2 separate regions of the Homo sapiens genome follow, and region 1 is linked to region 2. Evidence: promoter capture Hi-C in human tissues and cell types (Jung and others, 2019). All regions are on one chromosome and are shown on one strand. The core of a region is centred on a gene start or on the middle of the fragment in contact, and the rest is flanking DNA. Distances in the headings are between cores, read along the strand shown. Region 1 overlaps ZC3H7B (zinc finger CCCH-type containing 7B). Region 2 holds the start of CHADL (chondroadherin like).

Region 1 (6,105 bases), core at 1,302-3,801, 85 kb before region 2:
ATGGGTCAGGGGACCATGGTCATAAAGAAAGGCTTTTTTTTTTTTTAATAGACAAGCTCTTGCTTTGTCAAACTCAGGCTGAAGTGCAATGGTGCAATCACAGCTCACTGCAACCTCCACCTCCTGGGCTCAAGTGATCCTCCCACCTCAGCCTCCTGAGTAGCTGGGATCTCAGGTGCGTGCCATCATGCCCAGCTAATTTTTTTTTAATTTTTTGTTGAAACAGGGTCTTGCTATGTTGCTCAGGCTAGTTGCAAACTCCTGAGCTCAAGTGATCCTCCCGCCTTGGCCTCCCACAGTGCTGGGATTACAGGCATGAGCCACTGTGTCTGGCCAAGAAAGGGTCTTAATTGTGAACTAAACAGAATTAGCAAAACAGGCACACGCCATCATGCCCGGCTAAATTTTGTATTTTTTGTAGAGATGGGGTTTTGCCATGTTGGCCAGGCTGGTCTCAAACTCCTGACCTCAGGTGATCCGCCTGCCTCAGCCTCCGAAAGTGCTGAGATTACAGGCGTGAGCCACTGTGTCTGGCCTCATCATCTTTAAAATGAGAATAATCACAGTATCTGCCTCTTAGGGTTATTGCCAGTATTAGGTGAGTTAATACACACAATGCATCCTAGCAGTGCCTGGCACCCAGTCAGCGCTCAGAGAATGGGAGCTAGTGTTAACATCAGGATCTGCATGGCCATGTCACAGGGGAGGAAGTGAGACACAGAAGGATGTGGTGGCTGGGCCCAAGTGAGGGCCGGAAGGTCAGAAGCCTGGCCTCTGAGCAGGCACCGGCGTGGCTGCAGAGCCACACTCACGTGGGGCAGGGCGAGGGAACACCGGCTGCTGCACTCGTAGGCCTCCTTGTGGCGTCCCAGTTCATTGAGAGCGCGTGCCTTGCGGAACAACGCCCGGATACTCTCACTGTCCAGGCCCAGCGCCTTCTCGCTGTCCTCCAGCGCCTTCTCATACAGGCCCTGCCAGAGAGGAGCATGTGGTCACTGGTCAACACCTGTTACCCTCCCTCCCCCAGGCCTCCTGCCCCTGCCTAGGAAGGAACACCAGCTTCCCTTCCTGGCAGAGACAGAGGAGCTGAAGTCTTGGGTCAGGGACAGGGCTCGAGGCTCCAGGAGAGAAGGAAGCACTCTGGTGTCCAGACTCTGATCAAGGGTGTCTGTGTGTCCAGCTGATGGGGCTGCAGTGGGCACGGGCAGGATATTGCAGGGAAGGGCCTGAAGATCTACAACCATGAGCCCGGCCACTCAAGCACGTCTATTTCCATCTCTGCCTTTGGTTGGGAACATGATGAGCTGAGAGTAACAATGGCATCTCTAAGAGGCAGTGAGACCATGAAGGCAGCTCTGTGTGCAGAGTGTACAAGGGTTAACCCTGAGGCATCCAGGAGCCATTTATCCAGAAGAGTTCGCTGGATGGCAGAGGTGTCATGGGGTCCTCTAGAGAGCCTGCAGCAGAGCCTCCCACAGGATCTCATGAACCTGAGTCAGTGGGTGCACAGGACAGGGAAGAGGAGGAGGCTGCAGCTCTAAGGAGGAGAGGAGGAGGAGGAGGAAGGCACTGAAGTCCGCAAAGAAACAGGAGGCTGAGGCTATGGGAGAAACAGTGAGGAGGCTGAGGCTATGGGAGGAACAGTGAGGAGGCTGAGGCTATGGGAGGAACAGTGAGGAGGCTGAGACTATGGGAGGAACAGTGAGGAGGCTATGGAAGAAACAGTGAGGAGGCTATGGAAGAAACAGTGAGGAGGCTGAGGCTATGGGAGGAACAGTGAGGAGGCTACGGAAGAAACAGTGAGGAGGCTGAGGCTATGGGAGGAACAGTGAGGAGGCTGAGGCTATGGGAGGAACAGTGAGGAGGCTGAGGCTATGGAAGGAACAGTGAGGAGGCTGAGGCTATGGAAGAAACAGTGGGGCCGGGAGGGAGGAGCAGGAGAAGTCAGACTCCCACCAAGGCCCAGGGTCACCCCAAGATTCTAACTTACTTCATCTAGGGCAGGGCTAGGGCTAGGGCATCAGTATCATTTTTTTTAAAAACTTTTTATTATGCATCCGTACTTTTAAAAGCTCTCCAGCTGAGCATGTTGTACAGTTGAGATTAAGAGCCACGAGAACAGACAATGAAATTCTGAAAGCAGGCTGGGAGGAGGCTGGCCCTGGTCTACAGGCTCACTGGGGTATGGGCCTGGCTCGACTGGGCATCCAGGGGATCAGGGCAGCAGAGGAGGAGAGAAAAGAGGGTGCCAGGCTCACCATGGTGAAGTAGCAGGCGGCCCTATTGACATGCAGCTTGCACAGCAGCTCCCGGGGCAGGGCCACCTGGTCAGAGGCAGCGTAGTCGGCCACGTTCAGCCCTTCCATGTACTGCACCAGAGCCTGCTTATAGTCCTTCTCCCGGAACAGATCATTGCCCTCAGCAAACAGATTCTGCACCAGCTTGAGCAGAAAGGCCTGTTGGGGGCAAGGTGTGTAGGGGGCTCATGACCTCTGGCCCCAGCTCTGGCACCCGGCCCACGCCTCTCCCCTGCACATCTCCGCCCTTCACCTTTGCTCAGCCTGGCAGCTGACACTCACCTCATATTCTTCTTGCTTTAGGGGTAGTGTCGACCTATCAGGAAAAGAAAACACGAGGCCTGGGTGAGCCCGGCGGTCCCAGCTTCATGGAGGTCCAGAGCTACTCCTCCAACTCAGACCTCAGCCATCACCTTGTGGACTAGGGTGAACAGACTGCGGTTTTCTTCTCCTAAATCATTGCCATGCAGGCCTTCCAGTTCTGATGGAAGGACCTGCATGTTCCTTGGGGCCAGACAGCCAGGTTTTGCCAGGTACAGGTGTTGAGAAAGAGCAGACTGACCCCAGCCCCACCTCCAGCCTGGCCCCAGTTCCAGCCCCACTTCCAGCCACAGCCCCAGCTCCAGCCCCAACCCAGACAGCCCCAGCCCCAAGCCAGTCCTAGCCCAGCTCAGTTCCAGCTCTACCTCTGGCCCTGGACCTAGCCCCAGTCCCTGCTGCTGAAAAAAACAGCCATCCTCTGCTGAAAAAACCAGCCCTCTCCTAAAGGAAAGCAGGCATTCCAAGCCCTTTCTCAGTTACATGAGGGGAAGGAGGGAGGAGCCACACTTGGGCCTAGGAGGCCCCCAGGACTGGAAAAGGACAAGAGGAAAATCAGACTCTGGCCAAGGCAGAGCGGGGGAAGGCTCCAGCTGCAGCTGAAGGCCAGGAGGAGAGGATGGTGCAGGGGCTGCTGCAGCAGGAGTGCCAGGGACAGGAGCAGGCAGGAAAAGGCAGGAAGTATGAGTGTTGTCAGGGAATTAACACCTAGAACAGGCCTTGGGAAGGACCACGCCCCATCAAACCAAATCCGAGACCACAGGTCCACAGACACTGAGGCACCGGGAGTCCACCTCAGGCCCCTCCCCTGCCCAATCCCACATAACACACGCCCCACCCAATGCCAGGTCTTCACTGAGCCTGTCAGTCCCTCATGCTGGACTCAACAAATCATTCTAGGTGGGGTCTGGGCACCTGCTCCCTCCTGTGGCTAATGCTCCCTCAGTATGAAAGAGGGCATCAGCCCAGGAGAACTGAGGTTCATCTCTCCAATGGGCTCAATGGCCAGGCTGGAAGGGAAGCTGGGCTTTGTCTCCCAGTCCTTCATTCCACAGAGGGAAAAACAGACGCTCAGAGTGGCGCAAGGACTCGCCCAAGGCTGCTTGGCAGGAAGGCATCGGATGCAGGGCTGGGGAGATCTTTCCGTTGCCTGGAGATGCTGCCAGCACCTGGGCAGGAAAGAGTGGCCTAGGCTAGTGCGTGAGAGGTGGGCAGAGGCGCAACGCCAGGAGGGCTGTGTATGCACATGCGTGTGGAAGGTGTCCCCAGTTGTGACATCGGGGCTCACCAGCCCACCTCTCACTTGCCTCCCCACTGTCTGGGCCCCAGACCTGCCCTCCCTCCCCATACTGCTGCAGTGTCTGTCTCCTCTGTTGCCCCCACTAAAGACCCCATCACTACCTTCCTGGCCTCCTGCCTCCAGCCTACCCTCTTCCAGCATCAACTCTACCTTTCATAGGTCATGCGGTCCTAAGACATCTTTTTTTTTTTCCAGACAGAGTCTCGCTGTGTCGCCCAGGCTGGAGTGCAGTGGCCCAATCTCGGCTCACTGCAACCTCCACCTCCCGGGTTCACGCCATTCTCCTGCCTCAGCCTCCAGAGTAGCTGGGACTACAAGCGCCCGCCACCACGCCTGGCTAATTTTTTGTATTTTTAGTAGAGACAGGGTTTCACCATGTTAGCCGGGATGGTCGGGATCTCCTGACCTCATGATCCGCCTGCCTTGGCCTCCCAAAGTGCTGGGATTACAGGCATGAGCCACCGCGCCCGGCCGTAGACATCTTAAGGTCCTCTGCAAGCTGGGGCCAACCCACCTGTCCCAATTCACTTAGGGCTCTCAGGACGTGCTAAGCACATGAAGCACACGTGCACCAACACAGCGTAGGAGGAGTGGGGCAAAAATAGCGGGACTGATGTGAAAAGCAGTGAGTCCCACTGTGCTTCCTGCAAAGCCTTAGGAGGCCAACAGACGGCTTCGGGGAGGCTGCCTTGTAGCTGGGCCTTCCTAGAACGCCCCTTTGGAAAGGAGAAGGAGGGGACGAGAGTGAACATTTACCCCAAGCACCACCTGGTCCCTTAACCTTCACAATGACCCCGTAGGGGAAATGGGAGAACTGGGCTGGGAATCCAGCTCTACAGACATCAGTGACTGAGGCTGGGGACACAGAACTCTTCTTATGGAAGACAGCAGTGGCCGGAGTCACCTTGTTCACCAGACTGGCCTCTGAATAAATTGGAACACTTCCCCAAAATCAAACCCTCACTCCCCAAAATGGGAGAGGACCTGCCGCCCATGAAGAGAGATGAGCTAGCAACCGCTCTGATGAACAAGTCTGAGGAGGGTTTGCAAACTCCCAGCCATGGCAGCAAGGTGGGGTTGGACAACAGCCCAGGGAAGGGGTGCTGAACTTGGGGCCATGCTCTAGGTGCACCCAAAACCCCTAATCAAATCAGCCCAGCGCAGGACACCCTCCAGAAGCGGCCAGGAAAAGTGACTGCGTTGTGCGCTGAGGAAGGAGAATGTGTTGTGTCAATATGAACACTCGCTCTGTGAGAGCAGCATGGATACCGAGGGCGTGTGAAAAGGGACCCAGTCTGCGGTGACATGGGTGAGAAAAGGCAAGGGAGTACGCTGGGCACAGCAGCACGCGCCTGCAATCCCAGCTACGTGGGAGGCTGAGGTAGGAAAACTGCTTGAGCCCGGGAGATTGAGACCTGCCTGGGCAACACAGGGAGACCCCATCACAAAGAAAAGAAAAGGCAAAGAGTGTTTTACTGGTCTGTGTGAGAGAACAAAAGTGGGGAGTATATAAGGGAACATAGAGGCGAATTCCAGTTTTATGGGGAGCCCTATTTAAGAAAAAGAACACAAAATGATGAACGCAGGATTGCAAGGGTGCATGCCTTCCAGGGCCTCGGAAGGGGCTCGTGCAAGTGAGAGGCCACGATGCCCACGCTTCATTAGTGTTGTGATAATTATGCCTCTGAGGATCTATTTAAGAGCAATAAGAGAAAAAGGTTACTCAAAATATTTTGTGTGTAAAAAAAAAGAGAAATAAAACAAAAACAAATGTCGGGCTGGATGCGGTGGCTCACACCTATAATCCCAGCACTTTGGGAGGCCGAGGAGGGCAGATCACGAGGTCAGGAGTTCAAGACCAACCTGACCAACATGGTGAAACCCCGTCTCTACTAAAAATACGAAAATTAGCTAGGTGTGGTGGCAGGCGCCTGTAATCCCAGCTACTCAGGAGGCTGAGGCAGGAGAATTGCTTGAATCTGGGAGGTGGAGGTTGCAGTGAGCCGAGATCGCACCACTGCGTTCCAGCCTGGACAAGAGTGAGACTCCATCTCAAAAACAAACAAAAAAAAAGTGTGGCATGTGGGTGCTCAGAGGCATACAATAGAAAGAATGTGAGTTTTGGCCGGGCGCGGTGGCTCACGCCTGTAATCCCAGCACTTTGGGAGGCCGAGGCGGGCGGATCACGAG
Region 2 (5,563 bases), core at 144-2,643:
CTCCTGCAGTCTAGGAAAAGTACACACAGATGTTCATTGTTTAACATATATAAATATATATAAACATATACATTTATATTTTTATTATATATAAATATATACACACATAAGTGTATACACACACACATACATATATATATATATATATATATATATATATATATATATATATATATATATGTATATATTTTTTTTCTTTTTTGAGACAGTTTCACTCTGTTGCCCAGGCTAGAGTGCAGTGGCGCCATCTCGGCTCTCGCGTTCATGCCATTTGCCTGCCTCAGCCTCCCAAGTAGCTGGGACTACAGGCGCCTGCCACCACACCCGGCTAATTTTTTGTACTTTTAGTAGAGATAGGGTTTCACTGTGTTAGCCAGGATGGTCTTGATCTCGACCTCGTGATCCACCCGCCTCCGCCTCCCAAAGTGCTGGGATTACAGGCGTGAGCCACCGCGCCCGGCCTTTTTTTTTTCTCTTGAGACAGAGTCTGTGTTGCCCAGGCTGGTCTCAAACTCCTGGGCTCAAGTGATCCTCCCACCTCAGCCTCCCAAAGTGCTGGGATTACAGGCATGAGCCACTGTGCCTGACCCCTGTTTCCAATTAAAGGAACAAACAGTAGAAGATGCAATTCCATCAGAAGCAGGAATCTGAAAAATCAAGATACATGAACATTGGCCATGGTCTGGATGTATTATTTAAAAAACAAACACGAGCTTGGGAAGATGCGTATTTGGATATTCTTTGCAATATTGTTTGTAAATAGCAAAAAATTGGAGGTAGCCAATGTCCAAGATGAATGGCTAAGTCAATGTGATACATTTACACAATGGAATACTATATACCACAGAATAATGAGATTCGGAAGAGTCAATTTGGATAACTCCCAGTAATCTGAGGTTAAGTGAAAAAAATGAGTGTCTAGAATCCTGTGTGTCCAGTATTAAACTATTTATGTCAATGTGTAAGCACAAACGGAAGGAAAGGGTCACCTGTTCTGAAGCACCCACTGTGTGCCAGGTGCGGGCCTGAACCCCCACTGTGACCTCAGAGCTACTTATTAATGGGATGTGTTTTTCAGAGACTAGGAAGCAGCCTCTGGGAGGGCAGCCCACATGGCAGGAGGGAGCCCAGGACTGCTGACTCCCGGGCCAGCTGCTGGTGCCCCCTCCCTGTCGGGCTGGCCCAAGGATTCAGGCCGGGGCCTCAGTCCTCGGCTGGGGCAGGCAGGAGGCCCTGTAACTCCAGCCGCTGCTCCCGCCCGCCGCCCGCCCCTTCTTCACCTCAGCCTGGGGAAGCCTGGCTTGCCTGGTCTGCCGACAATGCCTCCCATTCAGCCCTGTCCCAGCTGCCAGGCCTGCGGGCCGTGGAGGGGGGCTCCTGCCAGGCGGGGACAGCCTGTCCCTGCGCTGCGCCTCCAGGCTGGACCAGCAGTTCCAGGCGGCATGGAGGGGTGAGTCTTTGGGCCCGATGGTGCAAGGGGGGATTCAGAGCAGCTCAGTGGCCTCAGGTAAGTCTCTGCCCCCTCTGGGCCTCTCAGAGGCTGGCGGGCAGGGGCTCTGGGGACTTCCTGGGGTTCTCCAGGAAGGGGGTCTCCCAAGGTGGGCTCTGAGACACGTGGCAATGTGGCCACTGCCAGGAACTGGTCCTCTGGGGCTTGTCTGAGAGCCCAGCAGTGGTCCCTGCATTATGAATGCTTGTCGCTTCAGCGATCTGTCCCCATGGGTCCCCTCCCTGGCCTGCCCTGAGGCACAGCCTTCACCACAGGCTCTGGAGAAGCCACCAACTCCAACGCAGGGGCTGGAGCCTGGGACCCAAAGGAGACTCCAAAACAGACGATAGTCCAGTGAGCAGCGAGGGGGAGGCTCCTGGGGGCCGGGGAACAGCCCAGCGATGGGGGAGAGGCCATGCCTGACACAGGCTGAGAACAGAGGGGCCAGCTGGGCAGGGGAGGTGATCTATCATCCTAGCGCTTTGGGAGGCCAAGGTGGGACAATCACTTGAGGCCAGGAGTTCAAGACCAGCCCGGGCAACATAGCGAGACCCTGTCTCTACCAGAAGTAATTAAAAAATTAGCCAGGCGTGGTGGTGTGTGCCTGTAGTCCCAGCTACTCAAGAGGCTGAGGTGAGAGGATCACTTTAGCCCAGGAGGTGAAGGCTGCAGTAAGCCATAGTCATTCCACTGCACTCCAGACTCCAGCCTGGGCAACAGAGCAAGGCTTGTCTCTATTTAAACAAACAAACAAAAAAAGACTCAAGGACCCGGACTGGATGCCTCCCTCCTTTCTGGGGGGTACCATTATGCTCCTGCCACCTGGGAGCTGGCATCATATCAGTCTGAGGACAGGCTGCTTCCGAGCCTACCCTGGACCAGAGCCTCACCACAGCCTGAGAACATGCTCTGAACTGGAGTCATTCTCACAGTCAGCAAGTCCTCACTGAGCCATTGGGCAGAGGCAAAGGGACTAACCAGGTCACTTTTCTGAGCCTCGGTTTCCTCCCATGTAAAACAGGACTAATCATAGGACCTCCACTGCGTGGGGGGTGGGGGGCAGGGAGGCTCAGGGTGATTGGCACTTTCCTGGGCCCAAAGGAGGAGGCTCTGAGGGGTTTTTGGGGCAGGAGCTGCACCATGGCTGGGACTAAGTGAGGGACAGCATGTGGCCTCGGCCCTTGTGCACAACAGACTCTCCCTCCCCGTCCCAGGCCCCGGAGCTCCACCCATGTCCCCTTGGTGCTGCCGCTTCTTGTACTTCTGCTGCTGGCCCCGGCTAGGCAGGCCGCCGCCCAGCGCTGCCCACAGGCCTGCATCTGTGACAACTCCAGGCGACACGTTGCCTGCCGGTACCAGAACCTCACTGAGGTGCCAGACGCCATCCCTGAGGTCAGCAGGGCAGGAGCACAGGCACAGAGTGGCAGTGGGGCAAGGTGGGGACCCAGAGGGAGGAGCCTGGGCTGGGCACCAGTTGATCTGCCACCGCCTGCCCGGGAGACCTTGGCAAATTACTTCTCTTTGAGCCTCAGTTTACACTTCTGTAAAATGGGAATAATAAAAACCAGTAACAGGGAGATGATCTATTTAAAATCCTTACTGTGTGAATGGAATAAGTAGGTGACCCATAGATCGATACTGAATTCACTGCAGACCCTGTGGTGGAGAGGCGGGCTGTGGCAGGGTGAGGTGTGGTCTCTGCTCTGCAGAGTCATCAGCTAGTGGAGGAGAGAGAGCGAGGAGGCAGGGACAGCACAGTGTGAAAAATGCCACAGTGGGTGATGCCCAGGGCACTGGAGAGGAAGGCTTCCTGGAGGAGGTGTCAGGGGTCGGATGAAGAGAAATATGGGAAAGGTGACAGGAGAAAAGAGTGTTCCGGGGAAGAAGCAGCACTTGCAAAGGCGGGGTCCCTGCCTGGCTCAGCCCCACTTTCTCCTCGCTGTCCCCAGCTGACCCAGCGGCTGGACCTGCAGGGCAATTTGCTGAAGGTGATCCCCGCAGCCGCCTTCCAGGGCGTGCCTCACCTCACACACCTGGACCTGCGCCACTGCGAGGTGGAGCTGGTGGCCGAGGGCGCCTTCCGTGGCCTGGGCCGCCTGCTCCTGCTCAACCTGGCCTCCAACCACCTGCGTGAGCTGCCCCAGGAGGCGCTGGACGGGCTGGGCTCGTTGCGGCGGCTGGAGCTGGAGGGGAACGCACTGGAGGAGCTGCGGCCGGGGACGTTCGGGGCACTGGGTGCGCTGGCCACGCTAAACCTGGCCCACAACGCCCTGGTTTACCTGCCCGCCATGGCCTTCCAGGGGCTACTGCGCGTCCGCTGGCTGCGGCTGTCGCACAACGCGCTCAGCGTGCTGGCCCCCGAGGCCCTGGCTGGCCTGCCCGCCCTGAGACGGCTCAGCCTACACCACAACGAGCTCCAGGCTCTGCCCGGGCCTGTCTTGTCCCAGGCCCGCGGCCTGGCCCGTCTGGAGCTGGGCCACAACCCGCTCACCTACGCGGGCGAGGAGGACGGGCTGGCGCTGCCCGGCCTGCGGGAGCTGCTGCTGGACGGCGGGGCCCTGCAGGCCCTGGGTCCCAGGGCCTTCGCACACTGTCCGCGCCTGCACACCCTCGACCTCCGCGGGAACCAGCTAGACACCCTGCCCCCGCTGCAGGGCCCGGGCCAGCTGCGCCGGCTGCGGCTGCAGGGGAATCCGCTGTGGTGCGGCTGCCAGGCGCGGCCCCTACTCGAGTGGCTGGCGCGGGCGCGCGTGCGCTCGGACGGCGCGTGCCAGGGGCCGCGGCGCCTGCGGGGCGAGGCTCTGGACGCCCTGCGGCCCTGGGACCTGCGCTGCCCTGGGGACGCGGCGCAGGAAGAGGAAGAGCTGGAAGAGCGGGCTGTGGCCGGGCCCCGCGCCCCTCCGCGCGGCCCTCCGCGCGGCCCCGGGGAGGAGCGGGCAGTCGCGCCTTGCCCTCGCGCCTGCGTGTGCGTCCCCGAGTCCCGGCACAGCAGCTGCGAGGGCTGCGGCCTGCAGGCGGTGCCCCGCGGCTTCCCCAGCGACACCCAGCTCCTGGACCTGAGGCGGAACCACTTCCCCTCGGTGCCCCGAGCGGCCTTCCCCGGCCTGGGCCACCTGGTGTCGCTGCACCTGCAGCACTGCGGCATCGCGGAGCTGGAAGCGGGCGCCCTGGCCGGGCTGGGCCGCCTGATCTACCTGTACCTCTCCGACAACCAGCTCGCAGGCCTCAGCGCTGCTGCCCTTGAAGGGGCTCCCCGCCTCGGCTACCTGTACCTAGAACGCAACCGTTTCCTGCAGGTGCCAGGGGCTGCCCTGCGCGCCCTGCCCAGCCTCTTCTCCCTGCACCTGCAGGACAACGCTGTGGACCGCCTGGCACCTGGGGACCTGGGGAGAACACGGGCCTTGCGCTGGGTCTACCTGAGTGGAAACCGCATCACCGAAGTGTCCCTTGGGGCGCTGGGCCCAGCTCGGGAGCTGGAGAAGCTGCACCTGGACAGGAATCAGCTGCGAGAGGTGCCCACTGGGGCCTTGGAGGGGCTGCCTGCCCTCCTGGAGCTGCAGCTCTCGGGCAACCCACTCAGGGCCTTGCGTGACGGAGCCTTCCAGCCTGTGGGCAGGTCGCTGCAGCACCTCTTCCTGAACAGCAGTGGCCTGGAGCAGGTGGGCACTGGGCATCTGGCGGGGTTGGTGCAGGAGGCGGCACAAGGCCACAGGCAGCGTGCATTCACTCAACAAGCATTTGCCAGCCCCTTGGTGCCAGGTCTCAGCCTGGGCACGGGGACCCTGAGATAAACCAGGACTGCCCCTACCGGTGTGAGTGACAGTCCGGGCAGAACCCAGGCCACACACGGTGCCTGCACAGGACGGTATTGCTGGAGCATAGAGGAGGGAGGAATTTGGGACCATGCAGTCATCTACTGTTTGTACATATTGAGAGCCCCCAAGAGGTTTTGCCATTATTGGGTGGTGGGGTGGACCATGAACTGGGCATCTGGGTGACTTGGACGGAGCAAGTGTTTTGACATCAGACCAGCCTGGGTTTTGACCCAGCGCTGCACTTCCTGGCTGGACCAGC

Evidence for each region. The method cuts DNA at HindIII sites, captures the fragments that hold promoters and counts their contacts. A contact is called where the count stands out against the background at its distance.
Region 1: a contact is called between a fragment that was not itself captured here and the fragment with the promoter of CHADL in region 2, in 2 of the 25 tissues and cell types used here (dorsolateral prefrontal cortex and mesenchymal stem cells).

Annotation. Positions count from the first base shown.
Region 1 is chr22:41,322,072-41,328,176 of GRCh38, reverse strand. ZC3H7B (zinc finger CCCH-type containing 7B) reads right to left here. Exons shown (of 23, transcript NM_017590.6): 3 at 2,580-2,613; 4 at 2,259-2,456; 5 at 813-971. Among named protein-coding and RNA genes, the nearest start is that of ZC3H7B, 24 kb to the right of the region's middle. RefSeq lists an enhancer at 3,531-4,031. The HindIII fragment of the contact is 6,758 bases long and covers 1-5,930 here.
Region 2 is chr22:41,236,761-41,242,323 of GRCh38, reverse strand. It overlaps CHADL (chondroadherin like), which reads left to right and starts at 1,393. Exons shown (of 6, transcript NM_138481.2): 1 at 1,393-1,450; 2 at 2,704-2,881; 3 at 3,439-5,148. The coding sequence starts at 1,443. RefSeq lists enhancers at 789-1,289, 1,290-1,790, 3,240-3,827, 3,828-4,416, 4,417-5,005 and 1 more and silencers at 4,103-4,482, 4,543-4,642. The HindIII fragment of the contact is 27,215 bases long and covers 1-5,563 here.